Regions from separate parts of the Homo sapiens genome. Here regions 2, 3, 4, 5, 6 and 7 are each linked to region 1. Evidence: promoter capture Hi-C in 16 types of primary human blood cells and fetal thymus (Javierre and others, 2016). All regions are on one chromosome and are shown on one strand. Each heading gives the region's core, a stretch centred on a gene start or on the middle of the fragment in contact. The rest is flanking DNA. Distances are from core to core; before and after follow the strand shown. Region 1 holds the start of BLK (BLK proto-oncogene, Src family tyrosine kinase). Region 2 has its middle 5.1 kb from the start of DEFB135. Region 3 holds the start of CTSB (cathepsin B). Region 4 has its middle 21 kb from the start of CTSB. Region 5 has its middle 13 kb from the start of DEFB136. Region 6 overlaps NEIL2 (nei like DNA glycosylase 2). Region 7 overlaps GATA4 (GATA binding protein 4).

What was found. The method cuts DNA at HindIII sites, captures the fragments that hold promoters and counts their contacts. A CHiCAGO score of 5 or more calls a contact.
Region 2: a contact is called between a fragment that was not itself captured here and the fragment with the promoter of BLK in region 1, in 4 of 17 cell types (M1 macrophages, M0 macrophages, M2 macrophages and 1 more). The highest score is 8.0, in M1 macrophages.
Region 3: the fragment with the promoter of CTSB here is called in contact with the fragment with the promoter of BLK in region 1 in 1 of 17 cell types (total B cells); the score reaches 8.6 in total B cells.
Region 4: a contact is called between a fragment that was not itself captured here and the fragment with the promoter of BLK in region 1, in 1 of 17 cell types (total B cells). The highest score is 6.2, in total B cells.
Region 5: a fragment that was not itself captured here is called in contact with the fragment with the promoter of BLK in region 1 in 2 of 17 cell types (monocytes and total B cells); the score reaches 6.0 in monocytes.
Region 6: a fragment that was not itself captured here is called in contact with the fragment with the promoter of BLK in region 1 in 2 of 17 cell types (total B cells and naive B cells); the score reaches 6.8 in total B cells.
Region 7: a fragment that was not itself captured here is called in contact with the fragment with the promoter of BLK in region 1 in 2 of 17 cell types (naive B cells and total B cells); the score reaches 7.2 in naive B cells.

What each region holds. Positions count from the first base shown.
Region 1 is chr8:11,492,984-11,495,683 of GRCh38, forward strand. BLK (BLK proto-oncogene, Src family tyrosine kinase) reads left to right here and starts at 1,404. Exons shown (of 13, transcript NM_001715.3): 1 at 1,404-1,608. RefSeq lists cis regulatory regions at 1-23, 97-1,717 and enhancers at 1,337-2,536, 1,426-1,615, 1,626-1,715. The HindIII fragment of the contact is 7,699 bases long and covers 1-2,493 here.
Region 2 is chr8:11,986,009-11,988,708 of GRCh38, forward strand. No RefSeq gene overlaps it. Among named protein-coding and RNA genes, the nearest start is that of DEFB135, 5.1 kb to the left of the region's middle. RefSeq lists an enhancer at 392-892. The HindIII fragment of the contact is 1,648 bases long and covers 481-2,128 here.
Region 3 is chr8:11,866,837-11,869,536 of GRCh38, forward strand. CTSB (cathepsin B) reads right to left here and starts at 1,251. Exons shown (of 10, transcript NM_001908.5): 1 at 1,165-1,251. RefSeq lists an enhancer at 515-724 and silencers at 815-1,144, 1,285-1,404. The HindIII fragment of the contact is 8,989 bases long and covers 1-2,700 here.
Region 4 is chr8:11,887,699-11,890,398 of GRCh38, forward strand. No RefSeq gene overlaps it. Among named protein-coding and RNA genes, the nearest start is that of CTSB, 21 kb to the left of the region's middle. The HindIII fragment of the contact is 3,746 bases long and covers 1-2,700 here.
Region 5 is chr8:11,960,559-11,963,378 of GRCh38, forward strand. No RefSeq gene overlaps it. Among named protein-coding and RNA genes, the nearest start is that of DEFB136, 13 kb to the right of the region's middle. The HindIII fragment of the contact is 397 bases long and covers 1,286-1,682 here.
Region 6 is chr8:11,778,100-11,780,923 of GRCh38, forward strand. It overlaps NEIL2 (nei like DNA glycosylase 2), which reads left to right. Exons shown (of 5, transcript NM_145043.4): 3 at 1,499-1,851. Among named protein-coding and RNA genes, the nearest start is that of NEIL2, 9.8 kb to the left of the region's middle. The HindIII fragment of the contact is 2,858 bases long and covers 1-2,803 here.
Region 7 is chr8:11,752,669-11,755,401 of GRCh38, forward strand. GATA4 (GATA binding protein 4) reads left to right here. Exons shown (of 7, transcript NM_001308093.3): 5 at 2,378-2,465. Among named protein-coding and RNA genes, the nearest start is that of LINC02905, 7.2 kb to the right of the region's middle. The HindIII fragment of the contact is 7,301 bases long and covers 1-2,733 here.

The DNA of each region.
Region 1 (2,700 bases), core at 154-2,653:
GTCACTTTTTAAATCAGAAGCTCGCAGAGTTTGGAACTCATGTTTCATGTTTGGATCCATGTAGTAGGTATCAGGAAGTGAATGTAAGAGTAAATTAACAGGAGCTGCCATGGACTGAGCAGGCCCAGGGTTCTGGACATTGTTGTGAGCCCTCTGCTACCACGTGGAGAAGATCAGCTTTGGGATTTAAAGCAATTAGCCACATTCACATCAGCTTCCAGGTATTTGCAGTTTATTATGTGCTAAATACTGTAATAGATACTTTTTATGCATGAATCCATTTATTCTCACAAAACCCCTTGGGGAAGTGAAACAGATTATTTCCATAGTGTCTTAAAACCCCAGAACTCTGCGTTGCTGCGTCTATTGACATGAACACCTGTCAAACCTGCAACTCATAGCTCAGTATTGTCTCAGTCCAATCCAAGGAAATGAACTCCTTGAGAAAGCTGACATTCTGGACCATGGGGTAGAAGCTACCCTGTCTGCCTCCCACACCCACTCTCAAGGATCCAAGACTATGAAGGGAGAAGAGAGAGCCCACCGAGTGACTTCCTCTTATAAGCCAATATCAAGACACTAGTGGAAAGGAACCAGCTGACCAGTGGCTCACTGTGTCTGGCTGGACCAGCAAGACTCTGACGTCATCACAGAAGCCTTCTTGGTCCCATTGGTCCTTTGACTGCTGTGTACAGGATGCCACCCACCACTCCAGACACCACTCACCACTCTAGATGTTGGGATCCTTCTCCCGTTACCTCCATTATTCTTGTTCTCTACTCCTCTGAGTTTTCATAGCCAAGCAAATTTCCACCATTGAAGAGGCTCTGAGATCCAAGTCAACTAACTACTGGCTAGGGTACTGTAAAACACATGGGAAATTAGCTTTTACCAAACACCAATTCTATGCCCACCATTCATACCCATTCTACCATTTAATGCTGATAGTATCCTGTGAGCTAGCTATTATTAGCATCATTTAAAGACAAAGCAAAACCAGTGAGGCTGAAAGAACGGCTGCCCTGGTGCACACAGATGGCACATGGCAGAGCCCAAGCCCTCTCCATGAGATCTGCAGCGTTTGTCCACACGGCAGGGCAAATTACCTTGTAGAGTCAGCATGGAGGTTTGCTAACTCTGCCGGACTTGGTGCAGAAAAAATACCAGCCGTGCTGTTAAACCAAAACCCCAGGAGAAAACTTTCTGGTGACAGAAGGGCATTGTGACCCACGTTGCCCAGGGCCAGGGACAGGGCAGCTGCTCATGGTCCTTCCTCACGAGTTTTCCTGGAGCAGAGGGATACCCCCAAACCCAGGGAGCCCACAGGAGCTTCAGAAGGGCTCGGCTGGAGGGCGGGGCCCCTGTTGCACTTGCTCACTGGGGACTGGGGAGGCTCTGATCGCAGACCGGGGGTGCTGCCACCTCTGTCTGCTGCCGGCAGAAAGCCACAAGCCATGAAAACTGATTGAGATGAGAAGAATTCATCTGGGACTGGCTTTTGCTTTAGGATGGTGTTGGAAGTTGCTCGTTGTCGCTAGGAGCCTGCTCCACTGTAAGGGTGTCAGGATCTGAAGAGCTATGGTGAAACACCACTGAAGCATTGCCAAGGTGAGGCCCTGCGTCTTCCGGGTTCTTTATCGTCTTCCTTTAAATTGTGCAAATGGTGCTGTAAGGCCTGTAGTGGGGCAAGCAAGCAAGGACATTGCTGTGGGTGCCACAGACGGAGGAAGAGGCATGAATGGATCGCTGCCTCAGCTATGAATAGATTGCTCCATGGTTTGTGCATTTCCAGTTTTGAGAATTTTTAATTTATAAAAGGTCATCCATCCAGGGTAGATTCTGCTTTTTGGAAAAGGCAGTGAATGTGCCACAGAGGAGAGAAGGGACGTGGGATGTAGAGAGGGGGTTGAGCGGGCACACACAGGCCACTGCTGCGCTCCCGGCGAGTCACTCGGCCTCTTGATAGGAGGTGATATTGACTGTGCAGAGCTGACAGAGGTTAGTGGTCACAGGCGGGGAGCATCTGGCTCAAGGCAAATGACTGTTGCTTTCGTTTTATTTGTTTGTTTCTGAATGAAGTTGTTCCATTTTTCAGGCATTCAGGAATGGGGTAACTGAATAGATGTAATGATGATCTTCTTGTTTAAGAGATCTATTTCACCAGGAAACACCAACTGTGAAAAGGAAAGCATAGTTGATCACATATTTTGAAAGGATTTGTGTAAATTGTAAGGTTTTGACAACGTTTCCATTTATCTGGTAATGCGGGTGGATGAAGTTCACCCTCATCCACCCACATTACCAAGGAACTAAGGAATTGTGCGTTTGCAGTAACAGAAGAAATTGCTGTGATATGTGCATATCCTCCTCCCTCGGGAGAGTGGGACTTAATTCCCCTCACCTTGAGTGAGGTTTGGACTAAGAGTATGGAAAGGGAGAAATAGTAGCTCTGTAGAGGAGAAACCTGCAGATGCCAGCTTCACCAAGGGACCAAGCTTAGCATCACCGGGAATAAGCTGGGCTGCTATTGTGAACTGCCACGACAGTGCGGTTCTTCCCACCAACTCATAACCCCAGTCAAATCATGAGAAAACATCAGACAAATCCAAACTGGGGAAGATTCCACAACATATTTCACCTTCAAAAATGTCAAGGTCATGAAAAACAAAGAAAGACAGGCAAAGCGTCACAGATCAGAGG
Region 2 (2,700 bases), core at 55-2,554, 490 kb after region 1:
TGGGATACACATCCCCACTAGGGATCCTGAAAGTCCAGGACACAAGGTGGGGGTGCTGGCGGGGAAGCCCTAACCCGAACTAACGCAGGAACCGACTTGGGGATGGTTATGGACTATAAACTATTCCATACTTTTAGGGGGAGACCCTTGCATGCACTTCCAGATCCCAGCGTAGATTAAGTGCAGCCATTCCTTACTGTTCCTCACAGGAGGCCTTGCGGCCAGCTACAAAGTTCAGGCGCTGGTTGCAGTTTGAAAGAATCTCCCAACGGGGTTCACAGTACAACCTCGGTGGGGACGAACTTCCTTGGCCAGGGCCGGGGCGGGGAGGGTGAAAAGCGGGCTGCAAGTGCAGGAGCCGTAGGTGCAGAAGTCGTGGGTGCAGAAACTGCAAGTGCAGGAGCCACGGGAACACGCCGGCTTTGCAGCGGACAGGGAGGGGCGTGGCCTGAACGCCTGGACTGCAATCTCTGCGGGGAAAGCTTATGACTCCCGGCAGCCGCGAGTTCTGATTACAGGCTGACAGGAACTCAGCTCGCTGCTTCCAGTGGAACACCGTGGGAGTGGATCTGCCTTGTCAAGTGGGTAGGAACTGTGGAGCTTACCACCGCCTGCTACTCCCTACTTCTTGCACAGACTCTTCTGTGCAGCAGGGGCAGCAACGCTGCCCTCTGAAACATTAACCTAGTGGCCTGAGACCCGCTCCCATCCCCCAATACCCATAGAAGCTCCTTCTTTCTCTGCACACGGAGACCAGTGTGCAGGCCCTCCCGACCCAGCCCCTACCTGGCTTTGCCCGGCCACCCGCCCTGGTAACTCAACGCAAAGGACAGAGTCTCCTGGGAGCGACATGGCCCCGCCCATGTCCGGAGAAACCAGAGTATCCCCCTCTGGGCAACATCAGGCAAGCAAAAATCCCAGGGCTACTACCGCAGCTGCTGCTCTTTTGCAAGCGCCACCTCCTAGCTGGAGGCCAACCCACACAGTCCTTGACAGTATCTCCTGGTAGATTAACATTGCACCCAGGAAGGAGAAAACCGCTATGGGATCTCAGCTATCACTGCTGCCTGCACCACTCTGGCTGAACAGGAGGTCCTGAGTCCGTCCACATGACCAGTTCATTACTACTATAACCCGCATTCAAGAAAGCTAACATACTAAGGCTATCAATAACAAAGGAATTTCACAGAATCTGTGTCACAACCTTGCCACTCCCATTAGAGCTGGTGCTGCTACCCACTGCAGGGAAACTTGAGCATAGGTCACATAACTGGATCCCTTGCAGACATTCCCCAACACCAGCCTCGAGTGTGTCAACTTCTCTGGGCAGCTAGACCCAGAGGAGCAAGAACACTCACAGTGACCTGGCTCCCAGGGACTTCCAGGGACTCCCACTTGCAGGGGAAGGAGGACTGCATCACATCAAGGGAACACCCTGTGGGACAAAAGAATCCAGGAGGCAGGCCTTGAGCACCAGATGGAAGGCTTCCTTCAGTAGACACACAGTTGAAGTGCTGGGCTCAGCAAGGAAGGTCTTCACTGTATCCCAACAGTCAGACAGCTCTGGCGCATGTGAAGGGTCTTGGAGAAAAGGAAGTCTTTCCCATGTTATCCACCACCATAGGCACAGTTGGGCTTCTCCCATGGGAGCTTAGTGTGGGTGCAACTATAGACAGTCTTCCTGGAACACATCCCCACAGGAGGAGCACCCTCTAGGTTCAAGGTTGCATGAGAGGCAGAGCCACAATTCCTCTCTATTTGGAACATCAACATTCCTACAGATGAAAAAAAGGTCATGAAAAAAAGTCCTGTCAGTCAGCTCCTGAACAGCAGGAACACTGGGACAGGAGCATGCCTGAGAGGTGGGTAACTTTCCTGGTGATCTGGCAGCAGGGCTGAGGTGGCTCCAACCCTTCCCACAATAAGACCCCAGTGTAACTCACTGAGAGCTCCTCTGGCCTCCTCTGTCAAGCCTGGGACATCATTCACCCACCTGCTTTAGCCACAGCTGGTTCCTACCCAGGGACACCTCCCCTACTGGCCTGAAGCCTGAACTATCAAATTAGTAAATAAAATACTGGGGGAAAATTAATAAATAAATAAGTCCACACTATGGGGGAATGGGATAAGCTTTAAGAGACCTCTACCATTCCAACCCCATAGGACACAGTGAACTTGCTCACACACTGAGCACATTGCTACTACAACTAGCATATAAGAAAACCATCATACAAAGACTCTCTATAACCAAGGGTCTTCACCCTCTAAAGCACCAAGAACTGAATTAGGCTATAATTAACTATAAGAATTAAAGTCTCATCCTTAAGGGGAAAAAAGAAATTTAAAAACAAACAAGCAAATAAGAGAAACACAGTCATATCAAATATAAATTCAAGAATAACGAGAAGAAGTAGTCTATCCAAATGAGAAGGAACCAGAAAAATAACTCCAGTAATATGACAAAACAAGGTGCTATAACACACCTAAAAGATCACACTAGCTATCCAGCAATGGACTCAAATCAAGATGAAATCTTTGAAATACCAGATAAGAAATATGAAGATTAATTATTAAGCTACTCAAGAAGATATTGGAGAAAGGTGGAAACCATCTTAAAGAAATTAAAAAGCAGTTCAGGATTTGAATGAAAAATTTTCCAGAGAGATAGGTATCATCAAGAAAGAAACAAATGGAACTTTT
Region 3 (2,700 bases), core at 1-2,500, 370 kb after region 1:
GAGACAGAGCCAGCCAACGCCCTCTTAGGCCTCTTCGCCTTACGTTCCTGAACGTTTGGATTCAAAGAGAGTGCATCTCAGCTATCCTCTCCTCCGGCAGCAGGCAGTGGGAATGTTTTTCCAGGCTACAAAAAGGTGCCAGGTCTGCATTTGAACCCCACAGCGTCACTTCTCCAGTGGGTTTGGGGGGTCTCTCGTCCGTTAGGAGGAGGAGTGTGGGGCCTGCGCTAGGGTCCTTTTCTTTGCCAGCCTGCTGGCTTTCTCAGCGCCTGGGAAGGGGGTGACAGAGGCCCACCAGGAAGCCAAGTGCAATTCACTTCCACCTGGGTCGCCCACCCCAGCCTGCCTGCAACGCCCCACACCCAGCACCCACTGCTCCCCAGAGGCCAACTCCCCCCGGCCTCCAGGGCTACTAACCGAGGGGGAGGTGGCGCCCCAGGGACTCTGCCCGGCCTCCCTTTACTGGAGTCCAGGAGCAGGGTGCGCCCCCGGCCTTCTCCCCACCGGCATCCAATCGCCCATTCGCCTCTTGGTTTCGCTGTCTGGTTTCTCTTCCTGTTTATGGATTTAACACCGTGCGGCTTCCTCCCCAGCCCACCCAGTGCCAGATTCCTGTTCTTCAACAGGACCTGTCTTCTGGGGTCCCAGGAATTGCGTGGGATCTTGCGCAGAAAGTTGGCCAGGCAAATCCTTCGCAATGAGGGGGAAATAAACCGAAAATAGATGCCGGCAGATGCGATTATGTCGGCAGTTTGGCCCGGAGACACCGAGGCCCAGGCGCTGGGAGCGCGGTCCCAGGCAGCAGTCTCCGGACCCGGCCGAGCTCTTCCTCGCAGGCGCCTCCCTCGGCGGTCCTGGCCGCGTCCCCGCTCCGAGGGCCGGGGTCCGGCGCACAGCCCGGGGAGGGGAGCGGAGGGCAGAGGGCTGGCGGGCGGAGCTGTTTTCTGCTTTTCTCGCCGACGCTTCGGAGCGCGCGGACTCCCACCCCAGCCCGCCCGTCAGGGACAGTCCCGAGGGTCCCGGCTCCCCGCCGGCCCCCAGGGACGCCGCGGGGCCGCGCCTGGGCCCGACTGAGGGCGCAGAGGAACCCGTCTCGGCGGCCGGGTAGCACCGTCCCCGCCAAGGTCACTTACGCTGCGGTGGCCCCGGGTCCCCAGCACTCACCCAGCGCTGCAGCCGAGAGCCTGCAGCCCAGCCTGCGCGCAGCGGAGCGGTTGGCGTTGCCGGAGCGGTTGCCGGAGCCCTGCAGCCGCCGTAGCCTGGGCCAGCCCCGGCCCTAAGTACCCTCCCGGCCCCGCCCCACGTGACCACCGCGCAGCCCCGCCCGGGCCCTCCCGCCGCCCGCGCACGGTGCTTCCCAGCCCCCACCCCCTCCCGCCACCTTCCGCCGCCCGCGCTCCCCGCTTCCCGGCCCCGCACACCCCCCGCCCCCTTCCGCTCGGGGTCCGGGGCCACCGCCGGGGGCGGGCGGGGGCCTGAGCGCGCGGGCTGGGGAAGAAGGGCTTGGAGCCCTGCGGGCCCTGGGTGGCGAAACGCTGCGAATTGGGGCCAGGGGATGGGGAAAAAGCCCCTAAAGGTGGTCCCAAGGCCCCCACCCCGCCTAGAAAAGTCCCCCCGCCTCGCGGGACCGCCTCCGCCAGAACCCGCGCCTGGGATCCCTGCCTGCCGAGTTGGCGGGGGTGGGGTGGTGGAGAGGGCGCCGTCGCTTATTTCATTCATTCAGAAGCCGCTGCAGAGGCTGGGGGTGGCGAGGCTGTGGACCCCACAGAACAGCCTTTAGAAGGGCCACTTTGTTGTTCAGAGAACGTACCCACAAAACACTACAGCTACGTACAAATAGAAAAGAGTGGCTGTCACTGCGAAGGAACCTAGGAGCTGCGTCAGGATTTCTAAGAGGAGAAGGACCTTGGGGGCGGAAATCGGTTTGGCACAGGAGTACCCGGAGACCTGCTCCGAGAGGACGGACAAAGTGCACATTTACTTGGGGTTTATTACCGGGAGGCCCTGGAAGGGAGATGCAGGGGTTGGCTCAAGACTCACCCTCCTCCAGACACTCCCCAAACAGCTTTAATCCTTAAGACAAACCTGCAAAGCAGGCATGACCCCAGTTGTATTCAAGAGGCTCAGAGGGGCTGGGTTCGGTGGCTCACGCCTGTAATCCCAGCATTTTGGGAGGCCGAGGCCGGTGAGTCACCTGAGGTCGGGAGTTCGAGACCATCCTGACCAACATGGAGAAACCCCGTCTCTACTAAAAATACAAAACTAGCCGGGCGTGGTGGCGCGTGTCAGTAATCCCAGCTACTCGGGAGACTGAAGCAGGAGAATCGCTTGAACCCGGGAGGCGGAGGTTGCGGTGACCAGAGATCGCACTATTGCACTCCAGCCTAGGCAACAAGAGTGAAACTCTGTATTAAAAAAAAAAAAAAGGCTCAGAAGAATCGTATTTTATCCAGGCTGTGGCGACAGTAAGAAGGCAGTAGCCGGGTGCAGTGGCTCACGCCTGTAATCCCAGCACTTTGGGAGGCCGAGGCGGGCGGATCACGAGGTCAGGAGATCAAGATTATCCTGGCTAACACGGTGAAACCCCGTCTCTAGTAAAAATACAAAAAATTAGCCGGGCGTGGTGGCGGGCGCCTGTAGTCCCAGCTACTCGGGAGGCGGAGGCAGGAGAATGGCGTGAACCCGTGAGCTGAGATCGTG
Region 4 (2,700 bases), core at 130-2,629, 390 kb after region 1:
TCTTTTTTTTTTTTTTTTGGCTGAGCCTCTGGGCTCCTCCTAATGACCCCCTGCGTCCTGCTTTCTCCCTCACGCCTGGCATGTCAGTCTCAACGCAGCGCCCGAGGGCTTCTTTAAAACCCAAGTCAAATCATACACTCCTCTGCTCAAAGGCCACCAATCGCGCCCACACCATCAAAGTAAAAGCCCAGGCCCAGGAAGTAGAATGGGGGCTGTCAAGAGCTGGGGAAGGGGGAGCTAGTGTTTAATAGGTGTAGCGTTTCAGCTGGGGGATGAGAAAGTTCTGGAGATGGATGGTGGAGATGGTTGTGCAACAATGGGAATGCTATAAACGTGGGTGGGGAAGACTTCAGAGGAGGAAGTTTTATGGGGGAGAGCAGGAGCTCAGTTTGGGGCATGTCAAGAATGAGATGCCTTATTAAACATTCGAGCCAAGACACTGAACAGAGCTGAGTCTGGAGTTCACAGAGAGCCAAGCTGGGGACATGGATTTGCAATCAATCAGTGCACAGATGGCATCAGTTCCACGGGACTGAGAGTTCACCAGCGTAGCGAGAACAGCCAAAACCAAACCAAACCAAAACGTTCTCCACAGGTCCCAGGAGTGAGCCAGAGACTTTAAGCTGAAAGGTCAGCCATCCAAGGAGGGATCAGGAAGGGGAAGAGGAGGAACAGCAACGAGGGAGGGAGGACCGCCGGAAGGGTGAGCGCTATGCTCGTGGGCTCGGGCGGAGTGGCACCTCGGGAGCTTCCTACTATCAGGGTTTGTGCCTGCACGAATCTGTCTACAGCCACTGCTAAATCTGAGGGCCATTGGGAGGCAGTTCAGGGTTTGGAGTTGTGTGAGGAGACAAGGTTAGGGATGGGAATTGAGGAGCAGTGCAGGAGGGCCGGGCGTGTAGGGAGGTGCCCCATTGAAGGGAGTGGGAGTGTGTGGGTTGGGGAGCAGCTGTTCAGAGGGGTCCACTGTGGCCCCCAGACTCTGGGCTGATCCCCAGAGTAAAGAAGATGGACATATCCTCTAGGGACCTGCACTGTCCCCTCACACCCCCATAAGAATGGTCTGGGGCTGCTGATAGAAGGCTCCTCAGTCAACTGACTTGGGGACTGACAGGGTCTGATGGTGAGAGGCAAGGACAGGAAGGCCTGCAAAAACGAGGCCTGGTCTGTGGTATGGTCTAAATAGTGACTTCCCTCAAAGTCACACAGTGACGTCCTAAGCCCAACTACCTTAGAATGTGACTATATTTGGAGATAAGGTTTTGATTTTTGTTTTGTTTTAGAGACAGGATCTTGCTGTGTTGCCCAGGCTGGAGTGCAGTGGCATGATCATAGCTCACTGTAGCCTCTTCTACCTGGCTGAAGCGATCCTCCTGCCTCAGCCTCCTGAGTAGCTGGGACTACAGGCATGCGCCACCACACCCAGCTGTTTTTTTAAACAGTTTGTAGAGACAGAGCCTCACTATGTTGCCCTGCTGGTCTCAAACTCCTGGGCTCCAGCAATCTTTTCGCTCCCACCTCCCAAAGTGCTGGGATTACATTGTGAGCCACCACACCCAGTCTTTGGAGACACGGTCTTTAAAGAGGTAGTTAAGTTAAACGAGGCTGTTAGGGTGGGCTCTAATTCAATCTGATTGGTGTCCTTATAGGAGGAGGGAGAGACATGAAGGCTGCACATACACAGAAAAAAAAAAAAACCCAACAACATGTGGGGACACGGAGAAGGCATAGCCTGAGGAGAAACCAGCCATGCCAACACCTTGATCTCAGACTTCTAACCTCCAAAACTGTGAGAAAACGAACGCCTATTGTTAAGTTGCCCAGCCTGTGGTATTTTGTTACGGAAGCCTGAGCAAACTAACACAGCCTGGCATTTTTGCTCTGAAGTTTACAGGATTGATTGGAATTTATGGGAATAGATTTATAGTTGCACAACTCAATGCTATGCAGGGATTTTCTCCAGCGTGATTCCTTTGGTGAAACAGTGGCCCCCACTTCCTACTGTCTGCCCAAACCCAAGCCAGCGAAAGTGTCCATTCACCCATCCATTCAGTCATTTACTCATTCATTCAACAAATATTTATTGAAGACTTACTGTAAAGGTCTTATAAAAGGTGATGGAACCTTGTCCATATCAGGGTTAGACATGGCTAAGTTCTGGGGAATTAGAACATATTATTAATCTCCATAACAAATACAGCTTTTGATGACACACAGAAACGAATGAAATCGGACACAAAGTCCCAATCAGTTTTTGGAAATAATCCACAAAATAAATGGAAGTTTCAGTTCCATAAACAACTAAATTGGATCCAGATATCAGATAATTCCACATTATATTGAAAAAGAAGAAATCGGGCCAGGCATCAGCATGTTGGGAGGCTGAGGTGGGCAGATCACTTGAGGTCAGGAGTTCAAGACCAGCCTGGCCAACATGGTGAAACCTTGTCTCTACTAAAAATACAAAAATCAGCCAGGTGTGCTGGCACATGCCTGTAATCCCAGCTACTCAGGAGGCTGAGGCATGAGAATTGCTTGAACCTGGATGGCAGAGGTTGCAGTGGGCCGATTGTGCCACTGCACATGGTTTGGCTGTGTCTCCACCCAAATCTCATCTTGAATTGTAACTGCAAGAATTCCCATGTGTCGTGGGAGGAACCTGGTGGGCAGTGATTGAATAATGGGGGCAGGTCTGTCCTG
Region 5 (2,820 bases), core at 234-2,733, 470 kb after region 1:
AAACATAACCTTGACCAAAAGAAACCAGTCACACGAGACTGCACACAGTGTGATTCCATTAACACCAAGTTCAGCCACAGACAAAATTCACTGATGGTCACAGAATTTAGAGTAGTAGTTGTCTCTGGTAGGGTTAATGCCTGAGAATGGCATGAGGGACTTTTCTGGGGTGGTGGGAACATCTGATACCTTGATCTGAGTGTGGTACGTATGTTGTGCAGCACATTACATGTGTGTATGTATGTACACACGTTCGCACATGTACATATATAAATCTTTCCCTGCACTCTTCCTTCCAAACAATTGCCATTTTTGTAATTATTAGCTTGTTTATTTTTATTTATTTTTTAGTTTATCATCTCTACTATGCTGTAAACTCAAAGAGGACAGACCTCCAGGCTTTTTGGAGGGTGTCTACTTACATAGTAGGCGAGAATTATATGTTTGTAAGAAGAATACCTGAATGAATGAATAAATGAATGAATTTTGGCATTTTGGGATGCTCTAGAGGGAATAACACTACTCAGAATTGCATGGAATGGTCAGCAGTAGTGTTCATCAGAAAGCTTTTTGAAAAATTTTTAAATTATTTTTAAATTAAAAAAATTTTTTTTGAGACAGGGTCTTGCTATGTTGCCTAGGCTGGTCTTGAACTCCTAGGTTCAAGTGGTCCTCCCACCCTGGCCTCCCAAATGCTGGGATTACAGGTGTGATCCATCTTGCACAGCCCCATTGGGAAGTATTTTTTTATCCTTTCATAGATAAAGAAACAAAAGTATCAATTAGTAAGCATCTAGTTTGTTTCAGGCCCTGTGCTTTGCACATGTGTCATTTAAGCTTCATAACAATCCTTGGGGATAAGCATTGTTTCCTCAAATAGGAGGAGGAGCTGAGATTTAGAGCTCATAAGTCATCCAAAGTCACACCGGAGGGCTGAGGACGGAAGGTGTGCAGGTGATTTAGGCACTCCATTTTTGCCGTTCCTCCTTTGCCCTCTGGTCTCTGTGCTCCCTTTGGTATTCCTGGAGAGAAGGCCAGAGCCTTGTTCACACAGCTCCAGAGGGAATGGGGCACTCCCTGGGGCAGTGTGGGGACTTCATCTCTACCTTCCCACGGGCCGAGCACAGTGCCTGGCACACAGCGAGTGCAGGGTAAACCCTCTAGGAGTGAATGGAAAAGCTGTGATGATATGAAAGAATATTATTACATGTTCCCCCTTCCTATACTTACTCATCTTTCACAAACGTGTAGATTAGAAGCTGCTTGAGGGCAGAGTCTTGGTGCAAGCTTCTCTGTGTGGCGCTCTGTGGTAGGCCACAGCAGCTGAAATATCCCAGTGGAGTAGGAGTTGGCAAATTGCACCCTGTGGGCTAAATCTGACAACTGTCTGTTTGTATAAATAAAGTTTTATTGAAACACGGCTTCACACATATATTGTCTACAGCTACTTTGACTCCATCACAGAGTTGAGTAGTTGTGATGTGGACTGCATGCCCTGCAAAGCCTACAATATTTACTCTCTGGCCTTCACAGAAAAAGTTTGTTGATCCTTACAATTGAGATTCCCTTTGTGGATTCAGCTTGTCTCAGCCTCTTCGAGATGAACGTTGCTGAGAGTGGGGTGGCAGGTGCTCCGGTGAAGGAGGAAGTAACCAGCAGTAGACAAGGGCAGAAGCCTATAAAGCTTGACCTCCCCCACCTCATAGTTTACTCATTGTTGCCCCAAACTTACACAACTCAAGACAGGGATCCCAGGATGAAGTCGCGGGGTACAGGCGTTCCCTAAGCCTAGCTGGTTGCACCTCTCTACCAAAATAATAGTAATCCAAACGCAGCATTTCATGAGGCTGAGGCAGAAGGATCACTTGAGGCCAGGAGTTTGAGACCTTCTTGGGCAACATAGTGAGACCCTCCCCCCATCTCTATAAAAAATTAAAATTTAACCAGGCATGGTCGTGCACACCTGTAGTCCTAGCTACTCAGGAGGCTGAGATGGGAGGATTGCTTGAGCCCAGAGGATTGAGGCTGCAGTGAGCCATGATGGTGCCACTGCACTCCAGCCTGGGTGACAGAACAAGACTCTGTCTCTTAAAGAAAAAAATCCTGGGAGAGGTGCTGTCCATCTCTCCCATCCCTACAATGAGTTTCTTGCCACGCCAGAGGGTGGCAGAATCTGAAACCTAGACGATCTCAACAGGTTGGCATGAGAGGCCAAGTCTAATAAAATGAAGTCAAACTGGGATAAATGGAAGGTTGCACCCTCAGGTAAAACCAAAATCAGTACCATAAGCATCCATTTTGGGAAGGTAAAGGTTAATTACCATCTTTGAGACAAAGCATGACTGGCTTTTGTAGATGGAAAATTCATATGAGTAGTCAGTGGTGTGAACTCCCACAAAATGAGTTTGGTCTCAAGCTGTATTCATGGAATTTTGGAATCTGAGATTAGAGACAAGAGCATCCCATTCTTTCTCTGTCTTCGGGCAGGACCAGATGTGAAATATCCTGCTTGAAACAAATGGGAGTGCAGCAGGAGTGGGGGCCGCTCAGACACAGCTCTGAGTAGTGTCCTGGGAATCAACGCAGCTGGGTGCTTTAGCCTGGAGATCGGAGCAGAGTGAGGGCTGAGAAGAGGAGCGAGCTCACTTGTCTTGGGAGGTCCCCAGGGTTGGATGTGGAATATGTGTCCTGAGGTTCTCGGCAGAAATTGCAATGTCCATCTCTCTTCCCTGGAAGTTCGATCTTTGAGCCCATGAGTACTTTCTGGACACATTCCGGGCAGCAAGAGTTTGGGGAGATGGGGTTGGGATTAGCTTTTAA
Region 6 (2,824 bases), core at 125-2,624, 290 kb after region 1:
GAGGGACAGCAGAAATTGCCATAGTTGGTATGAGGACATCCTGACCTAGACATTTTTGACCTAGTAAATGTTTTGTTCATGATGGGCATTTGACAGTTATTTTCATCAGAATTATATCAACATTGGTGAGTTTATACCAAGAAATATTTTCTGCAGCAAATTCTATTATGCCCACTTAAATCCTTGCTCAGTTTTTTTTTTTTTTTTTTTTATGTAGGTCAGTTAAACCATTTCTAATATGTGGCAGATAACAATCTGTGCTCAGATTTACAGATAAGCTATTCTGGGATTATTTCGAAAGGTAATGCTCTTTTGGGTGGAGGACTTCAAGATTAATTTGTGTACTAATTAACAAGTTAAAGATCATACCAGAACAGTGATCTTTAAGCACGGACCTGTAGTGGTCAAGAAAGTAACACAGGCATTTCCAGTATTAATGCCAGATATTTTGGTTTATACTCCTTGAAAGACTGCCTGAATTTCAGGCTGTGTAGAACTGACTCATCCTGGAATCTAGGCCTACATATTGCATATCAGGAGGTGCAATATGAAAATAAAGTCAAAGCAAGGGCCCAGGCATGGTGGCTCATGCCTGGAATCCCAACACTTTGGGAGGCCAAGACGGGCAGATCGCTTGAGGTCAGGAGTTCGAGACCAGCCTTGCTAACGTGGTGAGACGTGGTCTCTGCTAAATATACAAAAATTAGCTGGGGGTGGTGGTGTGCACCTACAGTCCCAGCTACTTGGGAAGCTGAGGCAAGAGAATCACTTGAACCCAGGAGATGGAGGCTGCAGTGAGCCAAGATGGTGCCACTACACTCCAGTCTAGGCGAGACTCCATCTGAAAAAAAAAAAAAAAAAAAAAAGACAGCAGAACATCCTTTAACACACATTTTCTATATTTATTTTCTTCTACTGAAATCATTTTCAGTGAGATGAGGTGGGTCCTTTGCCTTATACTTTTTAGAGTGGTGATCTGATTCACTGATCAATTTTTGTTTCAGTATCTAATTTTTATTGATTACAGTTTCCTTATCAAGTCCAATATGCTGGTGGAGGGGGTAGCGAGGGGTACCCAGTTTCACAGGGTGTTGTCTTTAGCTGCTCTGTATGTGTGCATTCCCACGCACCGCTTATTTCTGGCATAGAAAATGTATTACGAATGGAATGAAGGAATGACAACTTATGTTCATTTCTTAGCTACTGCATGAAAAAATTGGGAGCGATTCCCTTCAGGTATTCCAGGGTGGCCTTGCCATCTTGCATGGGTGTGTTTCACTGCCAACTAAGTCTCCTTGCTCCCAGTCACTTTGAAAACCACATGCGAACTGCTCACACCACTGGAGCAAAAGAGCAAAAGGCAGAGTCCAAAGACTTCATTTGGGAAGGCCCCCCAGGAGGGGTGAGAAGGAAGACCTTTGCAATAGGATAAATATCCGCATTCCCCAGTTCCCCTCTCTGGGTCTGTAAGGCTTGGATCTCTGTTCATTTTTTCTAGGTCCATGGAAAGAAATTATTCCTTAGATTTGATCTAGATGAAGAAATGGGGCCCCCTGGCAGCAGCCCAACACCAGAGCCTCCACAAAAAGAAGTGCAGAAGGAAGGGGCTGCGGACCCAAAGCAGGTCGGGGAGCCCAGCGGGCAGAAGACCCTTGATGGATCCTCACGGTCTGCAGAGCTCGTCCCCCAGGGCGAGGATGATTCTGAGTATTTGGAGAGAGACGCCCCTGCAGGAGATGCTGGGAGGTGGCTGCGTGTCAGCTTTGGTTTGTTTGGCAGCGTTTGGGTGAACGATTTCTCCAGAGCCAAGAAAGCCAACAAGAGGGGGGACTGGAGGGACCCTTCCCCGAGGTAATGGTGTGGCCATCTGATTTTCGTGGGCTCTGATAGTCATAGGGCCCTGCTTGGTGGGGTTTGGGACTTCAGCAGTGGGGACATACTGAGGACGTCCAGTCTGCCCCCCAGGGCCCTGCTGTCTTGGGGAGAGAGGCCACCTCTGTATCTACCTGTGATAGGAAGTAGACTGTGGTCTGCATGCAGGAGAGGGTTGTGCACCAAGAGGTGGCTGGGAGAAGGGGAGAATTTTCCCAGCAAATGTGGCACTTGAGGGGGGACTGTCCCTGAAGAACATTTTATTGCCTGACTCCTGACTAGTGTGCTTTGAATTTAGGGAGAAGATTTTCCCAGTTTTATTTTAAGTATATTGTTTGTGTGTTTATTTTTTATTGAGATATAATTAACATTCAGTAGAATGCAGATCTTAAGTATTCAGCTTGATGAGTTTTTTTGCTTTGTTTTGAGACGGAGTCTTGCTCTGTTGGCCCAGGCTGGAGTGCAGTGGCACGATCTCGCCTCACTGCAACCTCTGCCTCCCAGGTTCAACCAATTCTCCTGCCTTAGCCTCGGAGGAGCTGGGACTACAGGTGCGTGCCACCACACCGGCTAACTTTTGTATTTTTAATAGAGACGGGGTTTCACCATGTTGGACAGGCTGGCTGGTCTGGAACTCCTGGCCTCAAGCGATCGCCTACCTCCGCCTCCCAAAGTGCTGGGATTACAGGCGTGAGCCACCATGCTTGGCCCCAGTTTTTATAATCTATGAATGTTGAGATCAACATTTTATGCATAAGACTCTATCTAGGTTTAGGATATGTCCTCAGTGTCAATTCCCAGAGGAGTAATTGCTGGTCAGAGGGAATGCATATTCTTAGGGCTGTACATTTTTCTGGCCTTAGGAAAGTGCTAGCTGAGCTGAAATCTCATGAATGTTAGGTCGTTTGTGTACTTCTTATCAATGTAATGAAGCTTTTGCACAGAAAGTCTG
Region 7 (2,733 bases), core at 234-2,733, 260 kb after region 1:
AAATGTAAGAATATATAACAGGCTGTTAAATCCATTTGCCTCACTGGGATAGGATTGACGGTAGTAGAGTGAGAGGGCTGTTGTTAACTTAGTCTCATGTATCTTTTCATGATTTCTTGTTATAATGAACAAGCAAATGGCTAAAGTTATGAACATTCATAAGAAAATATTTCTACAAAGCATGTATACAAGGATGTTTGTTAATCACTGTAATAGCAAAAATGGAGGAAAGAAAACCTTTGGAAGGAAAATGGTTAAACTATTGTTCTTCAATATGGGAATGGTACAAGAAACTTATTGGGAAATATTATATAGGTATTAAAAAGATTATATTCTCAGAAAATAAAAAAATAGAATTACCACATGATCCAGCGTACCATTTCTGGATATATACCCAAAATAATTAAAGGCAGGGCCTCAAAGAGCTATTTGTACACTGCTGTTTATAGCAGCATGATTCACAATTGCAGAAAGATGTAAACAACCCAAGTGTCCACGGAGAAATGAACGGATAAACACAGTGTGATATACATACACGTAGGATATTACTCAGCCTTTAAAAGGAAGGGAATTCTGGCCCCTGACACCACATGTCAAATCCATAGAGACAGAAAGTAGAATGGAGGCTGTCGGGGGCTAGGGAAAGGGGGAATGAGGAGTGATGTTTAATGGGTATGGAGTTTGAGTTTTGCAAGACGAGAAGAGTTCTGGGGATGGTGGTCAGGCTTGCAGAACGGTGTGAATGCGCTTAACACTACAGAGCAATATACTTCAGAATGGTTCAGATGGTAAATTTTAAGTTAGGTGTGTTTCATTTTACTGCAACTGAAAAAAAAAAAGCATACCTAAGTGAATGGAGATTAACGTGAGGGGGAGATTCTTCTGAGGCCAGAATGGGTTTGAACATTTGAGGCATAGCTAGGGGGATGGGGTGGGGGAGGACACCCTTCCACAAGGTGGGAAATAGGGGTCTGGGTGTAGAGTCACAGAGAGATGTGCAGATGGTGGGGTCGGGGGGTGCAAGTGCCACCCCATCTACCCACAGTTAAATAGGAGGCCAGTTCAAGTTCACATATGCTGGTGCATTTCTCGCTTAACCATTGCGTGTTCATGTCTCTGAAGCAGTAATTGCTTTTCTTTCTGTATTTGCAGGTGTGGCCTTTATCAATCCCACATGGTAGACAAGCACAGCATAGAAAAGGGGCTAAAAGATTTGGCTCAGCCTAAGAGAAACCAGATGTGGGGAAGGCACCCTGCAGTCCTGCTCCCCAGGACTGGCTTAGGCATCTGTGAATGGCTCTGGGGCCTGCCTCCCAACAGAACTGTGGTCAAAGTGTTGTCCAGGGACATTTTATCTCAGAACCTGGTCACAGGGCAGTCTCTAGCATAGTCTCTTACTGCTCCCCACCATTCACAGAAGCACCAATGGCTCCAGCCAGACCCAATGCAGTACAGAGCTGCAATAAGTAGAGTGATGTTACATCTCAACTCACTGGGACTGTTGCTGTTGAGGCCAATTTTCCCAGCACAATAATTGATAGCACCGCTGCACCCTCACACCTTTTGAAGATAGGGCCTTGCTCCACCACCCAGGCTGGAGTGCAGTGGCACGATCACGGCTTGCTGGAGCCTCGACTTCCTGGGTTCAAGGGATCCTCCTATCTCAGCCTTCTGAGTAGCTGGGACTACAGGCATGCAGCACCGTGCCCAGCTAATTTTAAAACTTTTTTGTAGAGATGGGGTCTCACTATGTTGCCAAGGATGGTCTCGAACTCCTGGGCTCAAGCAGTCCTCCCACCTCGGCCACCCAAAGTGCTGGGATTACAGGCATGAGCCACTGTGCCTGGCCTAGCACCCACTTTTTGTTTTCAGGGTCCTTGTGTGGATGATAAAGGCTTTTGAACAGTCTGTCTCTGCTGCCTGAAATGCCTGCCTCTGTCTACTCAAAACCTTTTACAAACTCAGGTGTCACCTCCACACTGAAGCCTTCCTTGATATCCTCACGTGCCCCTCCTTCCCACTCCTCACCCCAGGACAGAGTTTAGTGTTTCTCTGTCTTTTTACATCACCGACCAGAGTCTGGTTATTTCTCCTTGTCTGTGAATTTCTGAGGGTAGGAGCTGTGTGTCTTTAGTTCCCTATTCTCCAGGCTCTAGTAAAGTAGCCATCACATCACACAGGTGCTCGATAAGTTTTTTAAAAATGGAATTGATTTCTTTCTCGCTGAGTTCCAGGGGCCTGTGCAGCCCGTCTGGGCCCCAGGCTTTGTGGAGAGATTGCTTAGGTGTTGCCTTCTCGCAGCAGGTGTGTGTCTTTCAATGCTGTAGCAGACTACGCAGAAATGGAAAACCCTATATATTTACTTGTGACCCTCCAGGTCCCCAGGCCTCTTGCAATGCGGAAAGAGGGGATCCAAACCAGAAAACGGAAGCCCAAGAACCTGAATAAATCTAAGACACCAGCAGGTGAGGAAAAGATCTGTGAGTGATTATATGAGTACATCAGGAGCCCTCAGAGTGCCTAAGAATCATATCTTCCGGGTTAGGCAGGCCAGCCCGGGCCGCCAGGGGGTGGTGACAGCATCGGACATCCCTGGCCTTTCAGGACAGGATGAAGAGCCCAGCAAAAAAGTAACAATTGCCATGGAACGTGTTGGGAGCTTTCGAAGCAGGCTCAACTCAAGCTGGGGCCTGATCATTGCCGACTGCAAAGACCCAGTGCTCAGGCTGGACC